Linked DNA regions of Homo sapiens: region 2 is linked to region 1. Evidence: promoter capture Hi-C in 16 types of primary human blood cells and fetal thymus (Javierre and others, 2016). All regions are on one chromosome and are shown on one strand. Each heading gives the region's core, a stretch centred on a gene start or on the middle of the fragment in contact. The rest is flanking DNA. Distances are from core to core; before and after follow the strand shown.

Region 1 (6,066 bases), core at 1,238-3,737:
ACAGTTAAGAATCTGCCTGAGGCCATGCAGTAATTTATGGATGGAGCTGGAACAAAAGCCGATCTCCTATTCCTCAGGCTCAGGCATTTTTCAATGGCATCTTCTGACTCACCTGGTAGAGCAACCCACTCTGTTCCAGGAATGCCCACTTCCCAGGCCTTTCCTCTCATGAGTCCTCACTTACATCCAAGCCTAATCCCTCTGCAGGGCTGAGCTTATGGCTGCGCCCTCCAGAGCGTTCCCTGTTCTTTCTCAATTTCTTTTTTGTTTTTTTGTTTGTTTTTGAGATGGAGTCTCGCTCTGTCGCCCAGGCTGGAGTGCAATGGCGCAATCTCGGCTCACGCAACCTCTACCTCCCCAGTTCAAGCTATTCTCCTGCCTCAGCCTCCCGAGTAGCTGGGATTACAGGCATGTGCCACCATGCTCGGCTAATTTTGTATTTTTATTAGAGACAGGGTTTCTCCATGTTGGTCAGGCTGGTCTTGAACTCCCGACCTCAGGTGATCTGCTGGCCTTGGACTCCCAAAATGCTGGGATAACAGTCATGAGCCACCCTGCCTGGCCTTCTGTCTCAATTTCTACCTTATGGTGTTGGTTAATACATATGTCAGTCCTTTTTTCATGCCTTCGAGATCACAAAAGCCTTCATGAGAGGAGATAAAGCAGGGCAAGGCCAAGATTAAAGGGTAAAGTTCATTTGGGCAAAAGACACAAGGAGGAAGAAGCAGAGATGTGGGAACAGGCAAGCTGACGGCTGGGTTTGGGGAGGTGGAAGTATAGCTGGGAAGCACTGAGAAAATCCTACTGGCTGCATTGGAAGGAAGGAAAGAATGAGAAGCCAGTATTGTTGAAACAGACCTGGCTCCGAGCTAGGCATTTTATGTGTGCACTGGGGCCCCAGATATCTTTGCAGGTCATACCTCACTGGTCTAGGCCTGCCTGGAGCCACAGGCATGAAGGACTGGGGAACCTTCTAGAAAAGCCAAACAACATAGGTAGGGCATGCTGGACCAGAGAACAATGCCTCAGGGTCAAATGTGAAGAATGAATGAATGAGTCGACTGAGTGTCTACTGCTGGGAATCATCCCTGGTCAGTCCCCACTGGCATCTTGAGTAGATATGGTGGGGCGAGATAGGGTTAGGAGAGAATAAGTAAAAATTGAAATTAGTCTGGGTGCAGTGGCTCAGGCCTGTAATCCCAGCACTTTGGGAGACTGAGGTAGGAGGATCGCTTGAGGCCAGGAGTTTGAGACCATCCTGGGCAACATGGCAAGACCCTGACTGCAAAAAATAATTTTTTAAAAATAGCCAAACATGGTGGTGGTTGCCTGCAGTTCCAGCTACTTGCGAGGCTGAGGCAGGAGGATGGCTTGAGCTCAGGAGTTCGGGGCTACAGTGAGCTATGATTACACCATTGCACTCCACTCTGAGTGACAGAGCAACCCTGTCCCTATAAAGCAAAACAAAGCTTTATGGATGGAGAATTTCCAAAGGCCCTTATTAGAGGTTGGGGTCCTGTCTCCAAAAAAACCTGAAAGTGCCTTCTCTAAGACCTCTCTGAGCTACCTCTCTGGGGCCCTCCTTGGAGTAGGGCACCTTGAGGAGAGGGGTGCCCTTGTCCCTTATGTGGAGACATCTCCACCTTTGGCATTCGTAGCAATGCCCAGAAGGGCTCAGCTGAAATAGTAGTGTGTTGAGTCCATATCCATGGGGCACTCAAGGCAGGCAGCTGTTTGCCTGGCAGCCTGGGACAGTTTGTGGGCTCATGAGAGACACCTCTGATGTCTCCCCAAAATATCTGAATCTGTCCAGTTCTTCTGTAAGTAGGGTCTTATAAGTACCAGTGAAACTGGGCACTTACAACTTGTGAGAGAGCTTCTGTTCCCACAGGCTGTCAAGGCCTTGGAATTTGAGTTTGATTTTCACAAACACCCTGCATGAAGTAACTTTATTTCTCTTTGTCAGATAAGGACACAGAGGCCAAGAGATAATGTGACTCACCCAAGGTCACAGCCCCTTAATGGAGCAGCTGGGATTTGACCCCAGGAAGCCTGGGTCCAGAGCTTAGCCTCCTTCCAATGCCTTTAGCACCATCAGGAAGAGTTGCTTCATTTCACTGCTTTTTTGCTATGAGACAGTGTCACAGGAAAGAATTTCCAAAGGCCCTTACTGAGGCGGGGGTTCTTTCTCCATCTTCCCTGGCACTCCAGTGGGGTCTGTGTTGTCCGTGGCCTTGTTGGGATGGGATGCTTTGCAGATGACAGTCCCATGGCTGCTCGCCTCTGGAAAGCTGCCTACTTGTCTTGCTTTGCTGTGCCCTGCCCTGGCCTCTCTGGGCCTGTGGATATTGCTATGGAAGGGGGTCCCCCGCCCCTACCCTCAGGACTGAGTGATTCAGAAAGCAATAAGCCTCTGAGTGCTGCGGCTGGGACTCCCCTCCCTAATCCCCAGTCTGTCCATGTTTATCCGATGGCCTCAGGAGGGGGTGTAAGGGGCTGGCGAGCAAGTGGGCAGCTGCTGAGCTTGCTGGGCCGGTGGGACGGAGCGGTCCAGGGACAGGCCCCTGCCTGGGCCAGAGAGGAGCCAGGAGCCATGAGGGTGGCATTAGGCATGCTCTGGCTCTTGGCCCTTGCGTGGCCCCCCCAGGCCCGGGGCTTCTGCCCCTCTCAATGCAGCTGCAGCCTCCATATCATGGGTGATGGCAGCAAGGCCAGGTATGGTACCGGGTGCGTGGGACGGGCAGCCCAGCCTCCATTGCTTTGCCAGCTAGGCTGGGTTGGGAGGAGTTGGAGCTGGGGCCCTGGGTGAGGTCTTCATCTCCCTTGGCCCTTGAGGACCAGGGATCCTATGGGGTGGACTGTGCTGCATTGTTTTCCAGCAGGCAAGGGGGTGACTCTATTCGAGAGGTACCAGGTATCTATACACATGGGCCCGAGGGTGAGGCACAAGTATGTCAGTTCTAAGAAGTCCTTCCTAAGTCCTCCTCCAGGCTCCTGGTGAAGAGCCCTCCTTAAAGGTCCAGGAAATCTCCTCCCTTACTGCTTTTTCTTCTCTTTTATTTTTTCTATTCCCTCTTCTTTTCTATATTTCCCCAGCCCCTTCTTTCCCAGGCCACTTGCACTCTCTTGCCTGACCTCTCTACAATATTCAATCATATCCCAGGCATTTCCTACAACCCCACCCATGATGGGACCACTTGCCTCTCATTCTCTTCCTCCTCTCCATCTTCGCTGGCCAGATCCCAGGAGCCTCAGCCTCAATACCTTTTTATGAGTGCTCCAAAAGCCAGGAGTGCCCATCCCATGACAAGCATGCTTCCTTCCATCCCCAGCCTTTTCCTTGACTTTCCCCACCCTCTGTCTGATCCCTCAGAGCACCTCCATTCTCTCCTCCTCTCCTTTCATGGGACATTCCCATGCCACTGTGGCTTGTGGACCCTTGCTCTTCCACTACTGCTCATTTTCTTCTTTTCTTTAGCAACGTTTAAATCATCTTTTCTCCAACTTCTTTAGCTTATCCATTAATGACCTCTGCATGGTTTCTGAGCCACTGATGGTTTCTGATCCTGGGAACAATGTTATTGGAGCTACCCTTTTAATAATCTTGGCAATGAATGTCGAGTTGATTGGGGGATGAGAGGAGAATGGAGAAGAACCACTAAGAAAAGACACCTCAAATGATCTGAGAACCAGAATGAGCTCCACTGTAGCCCAAGTGTCCAAGGCATCAACTCATATGAAGTGTAAGGGTCCTGTCCCCAGTAGAAGCCAGGCTGAGCCCTGAACAGCCTGCTGTTCCCAGCCTGGGCAGTGTCACTGGAGTGACAAAAAGCCTCCCACCACCCGTAGAAGGCATAGGGCTGAAAGCCACACAGCATCATTGACAAAACCGGTCCTGGAACCCAGGCATTCCGATTCAGTTTTCAGAACACTTATCTGGTGATGCTGCCATGGGCAGGGACCAGTGGTAAGTTCCAGGCAGCAGAGTTAATCTTAAGATGGAAAATGAGTTTCTAGGGCCGCTAATGTAAGTCAGTGGGCATTCCCTTCTCTGAAGCCAGAGCTCTTGGTTCTACCCGCCTGACTATCCCATGGCTAACATGCACCAGCCCATCTGCATGGAGGGTCCTATGAGGCCATGAAAGGTGGTAGCGGGCCCTGAGGTCCCCTGTGGCTATGGGCACAGACTGTGCAGTTAGACCAAAGCTCGTTCTGCATGTCAGAAGCCTTCCTCAGATCCCTCTCTAACCTGGGCCTCTCAGAGAGCCCAGCCTTTATGTCTGAGCTGTTGTATCGTGAAGTGTGTGCCTGTGGGCACTGGGGTTGCCTGGGAGGAGCTGGGCTATGCATCTGAATGGATTTGTGCCCATGCTGTTTGTCCCAGTTTGCCTCTGGTTTTACCCCACCCGGAGTTGTGCTGGAGGTTTGAGCTGTGGTGTAGGCTTGCATTGAGTTCTTATGGTTTCCTTTAAATGCCCCTTTTACCGTTTTCTCTCCCGTTCAAGATAAGTTTTCCAATCACCTGTCTTTCTCTCACCTACATCCAGACCTTCCTCCTTGCAATACCCAAACCTGTATTACTTTTTTTGAGACAGGGTCTTGCTCTGTCACCCAGGCTGGAGTGCAGTGGCACAATCATAGCTCACTGTAGCTTCCAACTCCTAGGCTCAAGCCACCTTCCCACCTCAGCCTTCTGAGTAGCTGGGACTACAAGCATGAGCTATCACACCTGCCCGAACCTATTGTAGTATCTGGAAATATCATTGCTGTAAATGCTCTTTCTTCCTGAGCTAGATTACACACTGTATGGAGACAGGGGCTATGAGGCTGATTCTCTTCTGAATTGCTCATCACTTAGTAAGAGTTCCATGTATATTTGCTCAAAAGGAGTGAGTAAGAATATCCGTGCTGTTTGTGGACACTGTTTACAAGAAAAAACAAGCCCAGCCCAGCTGCCTTTAAGTGGAGCATAGACTTATGCTGAGGGATGCTGGTGATATGTGTGTGCACCTCCAGGAAAGCCTGATATCACCAGTAGGTTATGCTATTACAAGAGAACAACCTCCCTTAGAAGGGCCTGTTCAGTGGCTGGGGGGCTTAGGATTTTGTTTTCAGTTTACGTAGTATAAAACATAGCCCTGAAATGTAGGCTTCTTGAGGGCAGGGACTGCCTCCTATTATCTCTCTATCCTCTGCTTTAGTCTCAAACTTAATGGAATAAGGTTTAAGAAGTCGTGGTTTGGGTAGAAGAGCTGATAAGACTGACCCGATCTACTTGCAGTGCTGAGATGCAAACATTGATGACAGTGATCCATACCCTTGGGCTCATGCAGGGTGGCAGGCAATGTGCTGGGCTTCCACATGCATTACCTCATTTAAACCCCATAACCACCTTGTGGGGTCTATTTGATGGCAAAACTGAGGAAAAGAGAGGTTACCTAATGTACTCAAGGACACACAGCCAGCAAGCAAAGAGCCCAGGTGTGAATCCAGCTGTGGGGCTGCCAAGTCCTGGCTCTTAAACAACTTGATCATCGATCGCATGGCTCCGCAGAGGTGGGAGAGACTTGAGGTGGTTTCATTTTTGATGTCCTTGGTATATTTTTTGTTAAACGATAAACCAAAACAGTTACAAAAATTGAGGTATAATTTAACAAACGAACACTTTTTTTTTTTTTTTGAGACAGTCTTGCTGTGTCACCCAGGCTGGAGTGCAGTGGGGTGATCTCGGCTCACTGCAACCTCTGCCTCCCAGGTTCAAGCGATTGTCCCGCCTCAGCCTCCCGAGTAGCTGGGACTACAGGGGTGCACCACAATGCCTGGCTAATTTTTGTATTTTTTAGTAGAGACAAGGTTTCACCATGTTGGCCAGGCTAATCTTGAACTCCTGACCTCAGGTGATCCACCCGCCTCCACCTCCCAAAGTGCTGGGATTACAGGCGTGAGCCACTGTGCCCGGCCAAACGAACACTTCTAACGCATATTTGCAAAGCAACAGTGCACAACGCGATCATGGGGTTTATTAATGCTGTTCATTCTTAGTGCACTGTGGGTGCTGCGGGCTGT
Region 2 (6,588 bases), core at 2,759-5,258, 240 kb before region 1:
CCACCTAAATCTGAACTCCATGTTTTTTATTTTCCTTCATTTCTTCTGAAAACTGCTTTTACTGACTTGCCCTTTACTTATTGTTCTAGGTAGCTTTCCATATCCATGTAAGTAGATATCATTAGGTCCAGGGCTGCTTTGTCCAAAATGATGTCAATTAGCTACATGTGACTATTTACATTTAAATTAATTACAACTAAACAAAATTTAAAATTCTCTTCCTTCATTTTCAAGTGCTCAACAGTCACATGTAGCTACAGGCTACTACAATGGACAGCACAGAAAGTTGTATAGGACTGTGCCGCTCTAGAGTAGGGCATTCTCAATTCTGGAATACGGTCCTATGGCTGCCCTCTTTTTATAATGCAAGGCTCAGGGGAGTTTATAACACTACATTATTGCTTTCCCAAGCAGAAGATAGACCCCTTACTCCACTAAGACGTGCTTCACACTCTGGTCCTCAATGCTGAAAACACTGTTCTTAAAAACTTATACTTAAAAACATCCTGTACTATGCCTACAGCATGGCTTAGGCAACTCCCTACGGTAGTAGAAACCTTTGTCTTGCCCTAAATGAAGAGCACCCACCAGGTGACTAGCCACTATTCCCTTGCTGGGTTCAGTCTCACAAATAATAACCAAACCAAACCCAAACAGTTTTGATCTTTATCAGTACAGTTCTAACACCAAAAGCACCTGTAGCATGAAAGCCAAATTTTACTACAGGCAGAAAAAAACTCCTAAAATTCTGAGGATCAATATATATAAAATCAATATATATAAAATATATAAAAAATTTTGTGTATTGATATACACAAAAGCTGAGGTTGAATATATGCAGAAAATAGCATGATAAAATGGTTTTCAGGCCAGGAGGAAGAAAGAATTTGTAAGGTAAGAAAACATTACATAACAGGAATGGTCATAACATAAATAGTTGGGAGTGGCTTCCCAGTACCACCTGAAATGATAGTGTGGGGCACAAGGGGTAACCCTCCTGCCCTTGTATTTCCTCGTTTGTGGAGGGAAATATCAGGGGCTTTTTTTAAATAAACTAATGACATCAAACACTTGAATCACACAACCTAACATCACGGCCACCAAGCCACTTTCTGGTCATACTTAGTTGGTGGTAGTATAAGCCTGTATAAACCTTTCAGAAAAAAAACTGTAGTAATTTATTTCAAGAACCTTACAAAGACCATCCAGTAAAGGAATTAATTCCTTAACTTGATTAAAGGTAATGCATTTCTTCATTTTGGTTTAGTAAAAAAATCAAACCAAATATTAATAGCAACCACCATCACCACTACCTACGTAGGTTAAAATGCCACATATACAACATAATCCCATCTAAATAGAGATGACAGATGGCACATACACATATACACACAACACCAAACAAGGCTGGAAGACCATATATAAAATGTTAACAATGACTGTCATTGGCTTGTATGATTTAAGTACTTTAAATTTTTCTTAAGTTGTTTTGCTTCTCTATTTTCTATATTTGCTATAGAATAAATATATCGTTATCTCTCAATAAAAATAGGAAAGGAAAAATCCACTTTACAGTACTTCTCTTTTAAACGTACATATTTTGGCCTCAGGTTACTCATAAAGTATTCTTAGTATTCTATTTTTTCATGCTTTTAATGAGAGGTATTGAATTTTATTATTTCTATTGAGAAAATGACTTACATAATTTAATATGTCAAAAGATTTCTTTGTACTCACATTAGATTGAAACTAACTTGGTTGTAGAGGAGTTTTCTTATTACACTCTTACTGAAACTATGCCTTTTCAACCAAAAATACTTTTTTCTCAGTAATTTAAAATACAAGTATGTGGTCAGGCATGGTGGCTCATGTCTGTAATCCCAGCATTTGGGGAGGCTGAGGCAAAAAGATCACCTGAGCCCAGGAGTGTGAGACCCCTGTCTCTACAAAAAATAAAAAAATTAGCCAGGCATGGTGGTGCACACCTGTGGTCCCAGATACTTGGGAGGCTGAGGCAGGAGGATCACTTGAGCCCAGGAGGTCAAGGCTATAGTGGACCATAATTGCACCATTGCACTCTAGCCTGGGTGACAGACCAAGACCCTGTCTCAAAATAAATTAAATAACTTTTAAAATACAAGTATGTTTCTATGGATTATCACAGTATACTGCTAAGTCTTCTACCATGCAGTGCAAACCTGGGCACCTGTTTTTTTTCCTCTCAGGGAAGTTAAGTCCTTATTGTGATCTCTCACTAAGATTAAGCCTCTGTCCTCCCTTCCCAGAGCTATGATCCTTTTCTCTTCTCTATTCCTTCTAGCCCCCTCACCCTCCTGCAACCATTCAAAAGAAAAGCAACTAAAATAAGACTGCTGTATACAAGTTGTGTAAACACTTGCATAAGTCACTTCTTAGTCTTAGCTTCTTCACATGCAGAAAAAGAGTGAGCTTACTATCATTTAAGCACACTGGAGGTTTCTACAAGCATCTTGAGGGATGGAACTTTATATTTACACATGTATTTTTATATTCTTCTTTATATTTACACATCCAAATTAATACAGTGCCTGGCATGAAGTAGGCACATAAATATCTGCTGAATAAGCAAGTGAATATCTGCTTTTCCTCCTTTCCCCTTTTCTACTACTATATTTCTTCCTCTTATTTCCTGTTGATTCTCTACTTCAGAGATCTTATTTGCAGCCATTAAGTGACACAAAATCCCCTTGGACAAATCTCAATACATTCAAATTTTTGCTCTGCTGCTGTTGGCAGCAAACCACTCTCCTTCAAAGGCTCTTCAATGTGCTTTTGGGGAAAAGAACCTAGAACTAGCAGTCAAGAGTCCTAAGTTATAGTACTAGCTCAGCCACTTATTAATTATGGGAACTTTGCTATGCCAGTTAATCTCCCCAGCTTTTGCTACCTTATCTACAAAACAAAGGTATTTGGCCAGATGATTCCTATAGTAACTTTTATAGTTACTTTTTTTATAGTTACTTTTGTCTGATGAGGAGGAAGACTAACATCCAGTTTCCAGAACAGTGAGGCTGAAGGAGCCAGAGGTGGTATAAAGACTTCCATGAGGATGGCAAAATGGAACTTATCATGCTTAATGGAATCACCAGTCTTCTTAGTAGTACAATTATAAGGCATAACATCCCTATGGGGTAAATGGAGACACCTGGAAAGCCCAAACTTCCATCTAGAAGCAAGGGGCATGGTCTTCTATTAAACAACTGTCTGCAAACAGATGAGCTTCCACCGCCTTTGACATTAAATAATATCACATCATCTTTTTCTGTTGGTATCTTTTGCTTTCTATGATTCAAACACAACCTTCATTTTCTTCACCAAGCTCCTTGATTCTTTCAACTAGACTTTCCCACATCCTTTGAACCTTATAGACTTACACAGCACTTTAACTACATCAATGCATTCCCAATTTCTTAAGAAGTACTTATAAACAGAGGAATCCTTATTTGTCTGTATTTCCTTCCCTAATTCCCCACTTCTAGTTTGAAAGCCAAATATCTGGGATGAAAGGGGATCATCAAACTTTTGTTGAATAAATTAATTCCTACCATTGTATCTTATACAGAGCACAAAAAAAATACTTGTTAGATGAAAAGAAACAAAACTCTTTTATAAACTTTAAAGGCTTATGGCTAAGCTTTATAAACTGAATTGCTGATTATATTAGCCATTATATTTCTCTGTTCCTTTGTGTTACTAGGATTCCACTCCTAAATATAAGGCAAAAGAGTCAAGGCTGACTTATTAGGCAATCTCTTAACAAGAAATGTCTACTACCTGGCCCCAAACAACAGCAGAATGACTAATGTCCATATGATAATTCTCTGGCTCACACACATCCTGCACTAAGTTCTGAGAACTCAGATTAAATGATAGAGTATTTTTAGCACTAAACATGTTTTGAGATATAACATTTTTGAAAAACAAATAAGCATGGAATACATAGTTACTTCCTATTTAAAATAAACCATTCCCTAGTTCTGCCTAAAACATAACTTTTATTGTCTGTATCTTCGTGCATTTATATTTCCTAACACCCTCAACATTTGAGTAATTATAATAAACATATTTGAAAAGTTTTAACAAAAAAGGAATATGCTAAATCATATATTTTCAAAGTGTCATATGCTGCTAAAGTGGGATGACTGCATACAGGACTGCTATTTCCTTTAAGGCATGTGGAACTACTCTCATAAATCATGCAATAAGAGGAGAGTAGACACGCAAATAAAATGAACTATAGTATGTAGAATGAAAAAGCTATTAAAATGCACATTCACTTACATAAGACACACAAGAGAAGCTTTAGGAAAACACATAAACACCTAAGAGACAAGCAAAAATAAATTACCTACAAAAAAATTAACAGCCATGACAGATTCAAAATCATTAGAGATTGCTGTAAAAAGAGTGAAATAAAACATCAAAATAGCAAATGACTGGAGAGGAGGCTAAGAGCAAATGTTACTTACAGGAATTCGTCTCCAGGGTGTTTGGGTATATTTATCAGCATAAGTGCATTTTTCCTCTTTACATTTTTGGTGGCAGATATGCTGAGTTGCCTAAACAAAAACACAAAATTTTTACATTGGTTTAATTCTGCATATACACACCAAGACACACAAGAGAAACTTTAGGAAAACACATAAAACACCTAAGAGACAAGCAAAACTAAATTACCTATAAAAAAAATTAACAGCCATGACAGGAGGTAATCAGGGCTCTTTTAGGGGGTATGTAACCAAATCAACAAAAAAGTCACACATGGCAAAATAGTTCTGGCTACTTTTTTGAAGAAAAAATGTTATCACAGCCAACAATAAGGTCTATTCAGTGGTCTCTCATCTTATTCAGGGAGTGGGTTTGAGAGTCAGCCTGTAAGGTTAGAATTTTGAATAATCTAAATTACCCTTGGCAATCTCTTATATTGTCCATAAAACATACAATATATGATTTTATGTATATCAATATAAAGAGTTAAGTATATGGATGTAGAATATATAGGGATATTCAGTATATAAAGAATACAACTGCAGAATTTACAGTATTTCCCTAAACTGTCATGGTACTACAGTCACTAAAGCTCAGTTTCTTAAATCCATATTTTAATGGGACTCTGCTGGACATTGAATACCACCAGTCCACTTGTCAGGATGTCTGTTCTCATGTGCAGTGTGATGAAGCCTCTTTCATGATGTATTGACTTTACTGGACTGAAATATTTTGAAGAGTGTCAGCCCTTTGACAAGATCCATCTGACCATTTCTGTTCACAAATGATTTCTCCACACGATTCCACTCAAAGCACACTCATTTATATAACACAAAGTAACTTTCCCAAATAATCATCACTTTCAAAAAAGATCATGAAAATACTGATAAAAAGAATTCTCCCGGCCAGGCACGGTGGCTCACGCCTGTAATCCCAGCACTTTGGGAGGCCGAGGCGGGCGGATCACGAGGTCAGGAGAAGCAGACCATCCTGGCTAACACAGTGAAACCTCATCTCTACTAAAAATACAAAAAATTTGCCGGATGTGGTGGCGGGCACCTGTAGTCCCAGCTACTCCGGAGGCTGAGGCAGGAGAATGGCATGAACCCGGAAGCAGAGCTTGCAGTGAGCACAGATTGCACCACTGCACTCCAGCCTGGGTGACAGAGGGAGACACCATTTCAAAAAAAAAAAAAAAAAAAAAAAAAAAGAGAGAGAATTCACCCTTAGTGACAAGCTAGAAAATAACCACATTATTTGTTAAACAACCTCACTGGAGGTAGATATACTTTCTCATAGGAAACTAAAAAATTCTTGATTATTCCATCAGGTTAAAATGATACATTTCTACTTTAATAATATTTACCCATATTCAAAATTTTTCTTAACTGCAATCAGATCATTACAATTTCCTTATACAAAATAAAATCTAAAAACAAAAATGTCTATCATAGAGACATATTTCCCATTCCTAACAAATGAGACAGTCACTGAAACAAAATTCAATATAGGCTGGGTGCAGTAGCTCACACCTGTACTCCCAGTACTTTGGGAGGCTGTGGCTGGCGGATTGCTTGGGCCCAGGGGTTCCAGACCAGCCTGGGCAACAAGGCAAAACCCTGTATCTACAAAAAACACACAACAAAAACAGCCAGGCATGGTAGCATGTGCCTGTAGTCCCAGCTACCCGGGAGGTTGAGTGAGAGGATCACCTGAGCTTGGGAGGTTGAGGCCACAGTGTGCTGAGATTGCACCACCGCACTCCATCCTGGGTGACAGAGTGAGACTCTAACTCCAAAATAACCCCCCAAATTCAATATATAATCAAGTATTTACAGTCTCTTGGAATTCACTGTAATAGGATCAACTTTTAACATATATGAGGGGTATATGAGGAACAGAAAAGATAATTTAAAAACACTATCGTAACGAAAACACTTTACTTATTCCATCCTATTGCAATTCCAGAAATTCAGGTGCTCTTTGATTTATAATGGGGTCACACCTGGATAAACTCATAATATTACTAAAAACACACTTTTGATTTGGGATTATTTTCAA

The links. The method cuts DNA at HindIII sites, captures the fragments that hold promoters and counts their contacts. A CHiCAGO score of 5 or more calls a contact.
Region 2: a fragment that was not itself captured here is called in contact with the fragment with the promoter of LRIT1 in region 1 in 1 of 17 cell types (activated CD4 T cells); the score reaches 5.5 in activated CD4 T cells.

What each region holds. Positions count from the first base shown.
Region 1 is chr10:84,237,967-84,244,032 of GRCh38, reverse strand. It overlaps LRIT1 (leucine rich repeat, Ig-like and transmembrane domains 1), which reads left to right and starts at 2,487. Exons shown (of 4, transcript NM_015613.3): 1 at 2,487-2,715. The coding sequence starts at 2,594. The HindIII fragment of the contact is 15,150 bases long and covers 1,472-6,066 here.
Region 2 is chr10:84,475,585-84,482,172 of GRCh38, reverse strand. It overlaps CCSER2 (coiled-coil serine rich protein 2), which reads right to left. Exons shown (of 10, transcript NM_001284240.2): 9 at 4,509-4,598. Among named protein-coding and RNA genes, the nearest start is that of CCSER2, 150 kb to the right of the region's middle. The HindIII fragment of the contact is 666 bases long and covers 3,676-4,341 here.